3 separate regions of the Homo sapiens genome follow, and all the other regions are linked to region 2. The links are contacts of gene promoters, found by promoter capture Hi-C in blood cells and fetal thymus (Javierre and others, 2016). All regions are on one chromosome and are shown on one strand. Each heading gives the region's core, a stretch centred on a gene start or on the middle of the fragment in contact. The rest is flanking DNA. Distances are from core to core; before and after follow the strand shown.

Region 1 (3,503 bases), core at 394-2,893, 1.5 Mb before region 2:
CATTAGTATCAAATTATTTTCTAATTTCCCTTGAAATTTCTTCTTTGATCCATTGTTTAGTTAGGAGGGTGCCTACCATTGATGTCAAATTATAGTATACAGGGGAAAATATTGAAAGGAAATTTTAATAATTTATAGTGTGAAGTAGGTCCTACTCTGAAAACAAATTACTTGCATTTAATAGAACATACCATTGCTCATTTTCATCTCACGCCTGTGTTTATTATCACATATTCCAAGATGGTGTGGGTAGATCTTCTCAAGGTTTTCATTATGTTTTCACCACCTACAATATCCTTTATTTTTTCTGATTCAATTTCAGTTTCTCTAATTGTTCAGCAATCAGTGCAACACGGTGGTTTTTCTCCTTCATCTTCAGGAGGCCGTGTGGTTAGCAAAGAAAGTCAAACATTTATTATATTTTCTATTTTCAGCATAACAAGAGTTCCAGCAGAAGAAGACTGACATTTAGTGGACCTGTAATGTATTTATGTGTTATTTTGAATTAATTATTTCAAAAGAATATAGTAAAGAAAATTGTTCCCATTTTCCAGTTGAGACTCAGGAAATGTCAGTAGTTTTGCAAAAAGTCAAAATGATAAATGATAGACATGGGATTTAAACCCAGTTTTGTGCTATGTTAGTGCTCATACTCTTTCCACTGCATCTGCTTCCTGAGGAGCAAAGAAGGCCCATCACTGCTAGATTTGGGGAGTTTTATAATTAGCACTAGAAACATAGTAGCTATGTCAGGCTCTACAATCTTTCTTTACTTTCTCAAAGTTTTTACTTTTTAATTATCTGTTAATTCTCAACTAAATGTTCTCCACCAGATGATCCACTTTAAAATGTGTTGGTTTCCAGAGTGTTTGATACTATAATTCTTCTTCTTTCTATTAGATCTGTTTATTGCATTATCCACATTCTAGCCATGATTTACATGCCACCATATCTTGGGGATACCTAAGATAGCATCTGTAATTTTGCTGTAAAATCCTATGCCTGTTATTTTTCATGTTGTGTCCCAGTAGATTTGAAGTTAATAGTATTATTCCTATCATTTTACTCTATCCTTCACCTATTCTTATTATTTTTGTCCTAGCTGTTGACCTTCCCTATCTTGTCATATTTTTATGGTGTTTTCTCCATTTCCGTGGTCAGCGTAAAGCTTATAAGTTTAGTGGTTAAGATGGATTCTGGTGTGCATAGAAGTAATTAAGGCATATTATTATTGTAGTTTAAAGGTTGTACATAATAAGACATTTTGTTTTTACTGTATGTTTTTACTGAGTGATCTATTTACCATCCCAAGGCAAGCATGAATAAAAGTAGGTTAAACGTGAAAAAAAAAAAAGATGGATTCTGAAGCCAGACTGTTAGATTCAAATTCTTTCTCTGACAACTGACCCGAAATGTAAGAACCTGGGGATGTTACTTTACCACTTAAACCTACCTTACAGGGTTATTGTGAACTTAAATAAGTAGACACATGTAAAATGCTTCGTCAGAGTTCGGCATACAGTGTTCAACAGCTTTAACGCTTATTTCTCTTATTAGTATTATCCATTAAGTCAGTCACTATGATTCACATATAATTTTCTTTCAGTAAGAGCATAAGCTGGAAGTTATTATTCTAATATTTTTTAAAGAATTTCTGCATGATTAGCCATTAGCATCCTACCATCCTCTCACTTTTTTACTATCACATTCATAGCTTTTCTTGAAGAAATTTTTATAAATTCTGGGTGTCTGGCAGCATGCCATAGTAGAAGAATTTAGAATATTTGGCTAGAAAAGAGATTCGTCAACTTAATAGGGTCTGATTTCTCCTTGTTTAATCAAGCACAGGACAATCAATATCCTTCCAAAGGTTTGGGTTGCCTTTAATGAATGGGATGCATCCTTATATGATTCCAGGAGGGCACACTTCCTACTCTCTTCCACTAACTAACCTCTCCACCATATTTCGCTTTTCCTGGAACTCTGCATCTTCTATAACAAAATGCACTTCTCAAGTCTTGTCCTTTTGCAGAGAGATCTTTCTCAGAAAAATAAAGCATAAACTCTGCAGGATATTGGATCACCTCTCTTTAGCCTTGAGGTGAAATATAAGCTTTTTTGTTTCCCTTTGGTACAAGTTTTACAGGATATATGGGTAGAGGATCAGAAGAGAAATGCTTTTTGAGATGAGTACTCAGCTTTTCTGGTTCACCAATTTCCTTCTGTTCTCTATGCCTTCTCCTACCCAACCTTCTAATTGAAGGTAATTTCAAGTAGCATCAGCTTTCTTCAGCGACTGCACTGGAATGAAAATCATATGAGACATTTGTAAAATTATAGTTATCAGGGTCTGACCTTGAGTTCTTAAATCAGAATCTCTGAGTTTGAAGTTACACAAATCTGTATTTTAAAAAATTCCATCCAGTATATACACATTTTCTCTGTTTTTTTTTCCTTTATATACCTGATAGTAAATATATATGTGTACATGTATTTAAATAAATATATATATGTTTAATGTTAATGGGCATCTTACTATATTGCCCAGGCTATATTATCCAGGCTGGTCTCAAACTCCTGGCCTCAAAAACCTCAGCCTCCAAAGTAGCTGGGATTACAGATTCAATCCACTGCACAAGGCATGATAGTAAAATTTGAACTACTGGGTTTAATTTTTTTATTTTTTATTTTTATTTATGTATTTATTTATTTTATTTTATTTTTTTTTTGAGATAGAGTCTTGCTCTGTCACCCAGGCTGGAGTGCAGTGGCGCAATCTCAGCTCACTGCAAGCTCCGCCTCCCGGGTTCACACCATTCTCCTGCCTCAGCCTCCCGAGTAGCTGGGACTACAGGTGCCTGCCACCACGCCCGACTAATTTTTTTTTTTTTTTTTTTTTGAGACGGAGTCTCGCTCTGTCGCCCAGGCCGGACTGCGGACTGCAGTGGCGCAATCTCGGCTCACTGCAAGCTCCGCTTCCCGGGTTCACGCCATTCTCCTGCCTCAGCCTCCCGAGTAGCTGGGACTACAGGCGCCCGCCACCGCGCCCGGCTAATTTTTTTTGTATTTTTAGTAGAGACGGGGTTTCACCGTGTTAGCCAGGATGGTCTCCATCTCCTGACCTCGTGATCCACCCACCTCAGCCTTCCAAAGTGCTGGGATTACGGTGTAAGCCACTGCGCCCTGCTATTTTTTTATTTGTTAAAAACAGTTTTCCTTAAATTATTCAAACTTCTGTCTGTTAGTTTACCTTCTGGGAGATTTCCTTGCTTTATTTCTATCTTTTTTATTTAAAAGTTTATTTCAAAAACTGATTTCTAGGCACGCTTCTTTTTTTCCAAATGTTACAAATTTCTTGTTTTATGCAGGCAATATCCTCTTCCCTATCTTTGAAGATACAAAATAGTTTCAGTTTCATCTGGGGTCAGTTTTCCTGTTTGCTTATTTTGGTTTTCTTCTTTAATGTTATATATTATTCTCATTTTCTGGTGACCTTGGATATT
Region 2 (3,182 bases), core at 1-2,500:
ATCTGTGATATGGTTTCTCAGGAACACCGTTTGGCAGTCCTGATAATTTCATGTGTTTTCAAATTTCAGCCATCCAGACTACACAGTTCACTATTTTCAGCTCCTTTCATTTTCCTTTTCCCTTTAATTATAGAAGTCTCTATTCCCTCTTTTCGCAAATGTGGTCAGGAAAGATACTAAATGCTACTATTTGTAGAAAGAATATGCATTTGTTTTTCTCTTGACGGTTCACTTAAGTTCTTTCCAAATAAACAAGCTGTGGTTGATAGTGATAGGTAACACTTCAAGGGTAGCAACTTTTTGTACTCATCCGTTCCTTTGACTTTGGAAGACGTGGCACATGCCCCGGGGGAGAAAAAGCAAGTCAACACTTTAGTTTTTAAACTTGCACTGTTAAAGCACTTTCAAAATAGTAATAGTTGAGCTTCATCTCAGACATGAATGTCTTTCTCAGTCTATTCCCCAGGACCCCTCTTATCCCGCTTCAGGTCCCGGTCAATGCGGTGCGCTTTCCGAAATGGGGCCGCAGAGTTGCCGGCGGAGACCAGTAGGTGGGAGGCTCCACGCACACTCCCCGACTCGGCCGGGACGCGGCTCCCGGACTCCGCGCAGGGCGCCAAGATCGCCGCCCCGCTCCCTTCCCCCGGCCTCCCCACCAATCCCAGTTTGAAAGAAAACTTCACGCGGCCGAAATGAACGTCACCTCACCGCTCCAAGCCTCCAGCCGGCAGAAAACGTGAGATTTATTATGACACGGGGAGGGGAGATGGGGGTCGCCGTGGCACACTCGGAAGCGGGTTACCTGGCCCCCGTCGGGGGCGGGGTCCGCAGTCCGGGGACCAACGGGCTGGGGGCGACGCGGCCGGGCGCGCGGGTGGGCGCGAGGGAGTGCGCGCGTCGCGGAGCCTCCGGGGCAGCACTTGTCCTGTAATCGATTGCCGAGCGCGCCGAGCGGCTTAGCGCGCAGACACGCGCACACGCGCCCGCCAGCCCGCGCGCGCGCGCACACGCGCTCTCATACACACACGCACAGGCGCTCGGGCCCCGCACACACGCACGCGCGCGCACGCACGTCCGCTCGCCCGCGCCCGGGGCTCCGCTGCCCGCCGCCAGCCGCCCGCCGCCGCCGCCGCCGCAGCCGCCGCCAGCCCGCCCTCCGCCCGCGGGCGTCTGCGCGAGCCCGGCCGGCGGGGGAGATGTGCTCGGGCTCCACCGGATCGGTTTCTCGGGGTTTGACCAGCTGTCCCGGGCTAACCCTGCTCCTCGCTGAAGATGGAGGAAGTAAAAACAGGATTACCCTTAGCTACAGATCCACTGCCTTAGTTTCCACCACCAACTGCAGTGCACAAACACACGTTAGGCACAGGAAAGAAAGAAAGACAGAGGACACATTAACAGTAAACACAAACAAAAGGGTGATGGGATTATTTTACTGCATGCACTGCTGAGGTAAATCTCCGCTTGGCTTTTGCGTGGTGAAGAACAGCTCTTGTTTTGTCTTCTGATTCATAGATTATATATAAATATGTGTATGATTTGCAAAGGGGGGAGTGTTTTCAAAGTTAAGTGTAATTATATAGCATCTCGTTTTGCACTGTGATGTGATCAAATGACTTGTTGCTGTTAACCAGTAATAATAATAATAATATAGGTATTTTTCTCTGGGAGGGATGGATTGTGGTTCTGATTAGGGTAATGATTTTTGTAAAGGACGCTCAGGGAATCGGGTTGAAGATGATGTCCTCTGCCTTAATTTATCGTCCCCTCCTTGTAATCTGTTTCTGGGATGTTAATCGATTAATCAGTTCTCATCTCTATAGCTGTCATGAATTTGGACTTGTTTTGCTTTGTTTTAACTTGAATTCCAAGAAGAAAGATTGGGTAGGCTGGAATAAATTGAAGCTGTCCAGATAGAAGGTAATATCCAGATCCTGTTGGAATTAAAAAAAAAAAAAAACCAAAAACCCTGGTATGACACATGTAAACAGGCAGCAGTTAAATCACTTTGACAGGTTCTAGTATGGGCGAAAGAGATGGAATTAAGATTTATTTATTTTTTTTCTTTTTTGCCAAGGGCCAAAAACAGTCCTGTGAAGTTGGCCTGGGTTCCTAGCTGGGTTCTGCCTGACTGTCCCTCCCCTCTACCCGCCCCCCCCCCCTTTTCTTTCAGTTTTCTTGTCTTAGCTTTTGGTCGATTCTTAAGGAACCGGTGGATCAAGTTTTTTCTCTTGTTAATCGCATTGCTATAGCACTGACTGACCTCTCTCTCTCTCTTTTTTTTCCTCTTTCCTGAAAGTACGTGGTGCCATTCCTGAGTGACTTTTCCTACTAGACCATCCCTAAGGGACGAGGGGGAGGGGTGGAAGGAGGAGGAGGAGGAGGACGAGGAGGAGGAGGAGGAGGAGGGGGGTGTTCTTCTCTCTCATTTCTTGGTTTTGTTTATCAGCCGATCTGTTTGCTGGATTTGGGCTTGGAATGACCCACCTGTAAAGTGCTTTTCCTTCCTCCTCCCCTTGAACTCTGCAGGGGGCTTGGCTTGGAGGGGGCAAGGGAGGGAAAGAGAGAAGGGGGAAACACAAAAAACTTCTTTCTTTCTCCCTCCGTTTATCTTCAGCCCGACATTGTCACCTCCTCTTTGAGGGGTTAGAAGAAGCTGAGATCTCCCGACAGAGCTGGAAATGGTGATGAATCTTTTTTAATCAAAGGACAATTTCTTTTGTATGTACATTTCGTTTCTCTTTCTCCTTTTTCTTTTTCCTTCTTTCCTTCTCTGAGGGTTAATAACCATTTCATTGATGGGGCAGCCTTCTTTCGCTTCTCCCTGACGTTTCTTTCTTTTTAATATGTGTGTGTTAAATGTGTACATTTTTAAAGAGATAAGCTCATTTGTAAAATATCCGAAGAAACTGCTCCTCTTTTAAACTTTACGGATCTCTTTCTTTAAAGCCTTATGTAATCATAATTTAAAAGAATGTGATAACAGTACAGCAGGTTGAAATTTAAGTGCTATGTAGTGACTGAGTTGGGAATTTGATCTGATTATTCCATAAAGAAAGAAATAAAAGTTTTTTTTTGGGGGGGGGGTAAGGGAGTGTGGTGGTGAAGAAGGGGAGGGGAGGGAGAAGGGAAGTGGTTTTGGAGACAAGAAGTGAAGCTGCCTGTTTTCCAGTAAGTAATGGAGA
Region 3 (3,171 bases), core at 306-2,805, 1.7 Mb before region 2:
TATTAAAAAACATAACAAAAAAATAGAAGCCTTCACCCAGTCTTACTGAGATAAAACAAAAGATTCGATTTCAAACCTGGCTCTCACAAATCTGAGCTTTCAGCAGGCACCATCTTTGCTGGCAATATTACTTTCCCAATTATTTCCAGGTTCTGGATTGCTGGGTCCTGCCTCCCTCCTTTCTTTTCTTTTCTTTCCTCCTTCCCTCCCTCCTTTCTTTCATCACATCATGATGAGCTATATATAATGTATACAGCTACTTCACTTGTACAAAAGAGGCCTGGTGAGGCAAGAAACATCTTCACCTTTATACTCAGTTACATGGCTAACATGGCATTTTCCAGGGGCCAGCCCTCATAAATCCAGACTTCAGATTTGTTTCCATAGCAATCCTATATTCTGCTAAAAAACATTCCATAATTAAGGACTCTTGTTCTTAAAGTTCTCAGCCACCCCAATCCTGGGATTTTCCCTGGCTGCTTTTAATCGATTCAAGTCCAGTCTATGATTATGACATATTGATTCCTCTCTCTGCCCCACCATCCTCTTTCCTCTCTTCCTCCTTCCCATGGCTTAAACTTAATTTCTCTCTTTGCCTCATGGAAAGTTACTTTGGGTTCTGCTAATTCCCCTCTTAGCCAAGCATCTTTTTTTTTTTTTTTTTTTTTTGAGATGGAGTTTTGCTCTTGTTGGCCAAGTGGAGTGCAGTGGCGTGATCTTGGTTCACTGTCACCTCCGCCTTCCGGTTCAGGTGATTCTCCTGCCTGAGCCTCCCGAGTAGCTGGAATTGCAGGTGCCCACCACCATGCTCAGCTAATTTTTGTATTTTTAGTAGAGACGGGGTTTCACCATGTTGGCCAGGCTGGTCTCGAACTCCTGACCTTGTGATCTGCCCACCTCGGCCTCCCAAAGTGCTGGGATTACAGGTGTGAGCCATCACACCCAGTCTTAGCCAAGCATCTAATCAAGAATTTTCCCAAACCATCTCACAAAAGAAATCTGGTCTGACATGTTAAGAAAATGAATTTTTTTAAACTTTTGATTTTATACACTCCTAGGTTTTATTTTTCTTCAGACAATGGGAAGAGAAGAAGTAGATTGAATCTATTGGAGTGCAGAAAACAATACCCTAAAATATGCCCCATTGGCAAGCTAAGTGCTTTGAATTAAAGAAAACTGAAAGGCCTCAGAAATAAGCCTCAGAACTAAAGTCTCTCTCTGACCTTCCCCAACCACCCTCTCTCTCTGACCTTTTTCCTTGCTCAAAGCACCAAGAGAGATTCTAAGATTTCCTTATCTGACTAAGGAAGCTTCTTTCCAACAGAAATGCAATTGTCTTAAGACCCACTTCCTAGAAATCTCATCAAATGACCAGGAAAGTTCAACCATTGAAGAAGAGAACTGACTGGGAGTCAGCACCATGCCTAGGCTTTTCATCTCTTCTCTGACGGCAGCTCCAAGAGATTACTTACCTACAAGACTATTTGCATATTTTCCCAGTGAAGTTCAGCCACTCATCATCCTGCCACCTCCCCCAGAACTCTGAGAAACTTCATCCCAGGCCATTGTTCTTGGGGTTCATTAATTTCCCCTGAAAATCATTTACTACTCCTCATGATTGACTATATCTCATATTTCCTTGTCTATTATGAAGAGGGTAGTATCAACCATCTGGCTCTTCTTTGAATCTCGTATTTTAAATGTTTCCTATGTTTATGCATGTTCAATAAATTTGTATGCCTTTTTATCCTATTAATCTGTCTATTGCAGTGAAACTTCAGCAGGTGGAGAGGAAGCTTTCTCTCCACCTATACAAACCTAAGCAATACTCACCAAAAGCCAGAAAAATTTAGTCATTTTAGAGAACTTAAAGGGCACAAACCATCCCAAAAAGGGTTGGTTATCTGGAAATCTCTGGGGGCAGTGGGGAAGCCTTCTCCTAAGAGAAAAGAGCAATTTTGGTCTGGAAATAATACCTTAGCATCTAAGGGCCAAGCTGATTTTGATTACGGCATGTGTCTTCACTCTGTCCTCATTCATTCATTCCTACACCTATTACATCCCTGGTGCTGTCCTAGGTACAGGGGATATAGCAATGTACAGACAACAATTGATGCTTTCTTGAAGCTGGTGTTGCATAAATAAATATAAATAATAAATTACACAAGTTAAATATATAATGTGCGAGTTGGTGAGACACATAAAGAAGGAAAAGTGGGGTAGAAAGTGTTCCTCCAAACCAGCCCCTCATGGATTTGTGATATGAATGGAAAAAGCACAAAACCATAAGAGCCAATTTTGCATGCTTCTGAGAAATAATGAAGGCATTGGCAGCACTAAATTATTTGAGTAGACACAAAAATGGGGAAAAGCCACAATCCCTATTTTAGTAGAGCTGTGTGGAAATGGAGTACCTTGTAAAGGCAGCACCTAGGGAGAGTTTTGGACTGGAGGGGTTGAGGGGCTTGAAGGAGCGAGGAGCTCATGACCTCAGAGCATGCCAAGCTTCAAGCTTCTTTTATTTATTTATTTATTGAGAAGGAGTTTCACGTTTTGCACAGGCTGGAGTGCAATGACATGATCTCGGCTCACTGCAGTCTCCACCTCCCAGGTTCAAATGATTCTCCTGCCCCAGCCTCCCGAGTAGCTGGGATTATAGGTACGCGCCACCATGCTCGGCTAATTTTGTATTTTTAGTAGAGATGGGGTTTCACCATGTTGGCCAGGCTAGTCTCGAGCTCCTGATCTCAGGTGATCCGCCTGCCTCAGCCTCCGAAAGTGCTGCGATTACAGGCGTGAGCCACTGTGCCCAGCCAGCATGCCAAGCTTCTGAGTCTAGGCAGTAAACATCACTATGGAGCTCAGTGACAGATCCTGAGAGGAGGCAAAGTCTGGATCCCATGTTGTGCCAACAGCACTGTGTTTGCGACTAAATGTCAAACACAGCCTGAGATTTCCACACGGTGGTAGGCAGGGTAGACACAACTGGACATAATAGGTAGATGCACTGACATGCTGGTAAATGTTGAACAATGAGCATTCTGAGTGTAGTTGCAACATATATGTTGGTTGATATTTGTATTAGAGTCAGACAGAAGTGAAACTTGTTCATCAATGATGTGACTTGCTTGCAAGTTGAATACTGAAAGAATATGTCACCAATTTTAGGCT

Evidence for each region. Contacts are between HindIII fragments. The CHiCAGO score rates a contact against its expected background, and 5 or more counts as called.
Region 1: a contact is called between a fragment that was not itself captured here and the fragment with the promoter of IKZF2 in region 2, in 1 of 17 cell types (fetal thymus). The highest score is 5.9, in fetal thymus.
Region 3: a fragment that was not itself captured here is called in contact with the fragment with the promoter of IKZF2 in region 2 in 1 of 17 cell types (naive B cells); the score reaches 5.8 in naive B cells.

The regions. Positions count from the first base shown.
Region 1 is chr2:214,680,058-214,683,560 of GRCh38, reverse strand. No RefSeq gene overlaps it. Among named protein-coding and RNA genes, the nearest start is that of BARD1, 130 kb to the left of the region's middle. The HindIII fragment of the contact is 945 bases long and covers 1,171-2,115 here.
Region 2 is chr2:213,149,680-213,152,861 of GRCh38, reverse strand. It overlaps IKZF2 (IKAROS family zinc finger 2), which reads left to right and starts at 1,250. Exons shown (of 9, transcript NM_001387220.1): 1 at 1,250-1,449; 2 at 2,615-2,718. RefSeq lists silencers at 660-1,019, 1,100-1,159. The HindIII fragment of the contact is 7,158 bases long and covers 1-3,182 here.
Region 3 is chr2:214,820,165-214,823,335 of GRCh38, reverse strand. The region is part of intron 1 of SNHG31 (small nucleolar RNA host gene 31); the gene reads right to left. Among named protein-coding and RNA genes, the nearest start is that of SNHG31, 12 kb to the right of the region's middle. The HindIII fragment of the contact is 486 bases long and covers 1,313-1,798 here.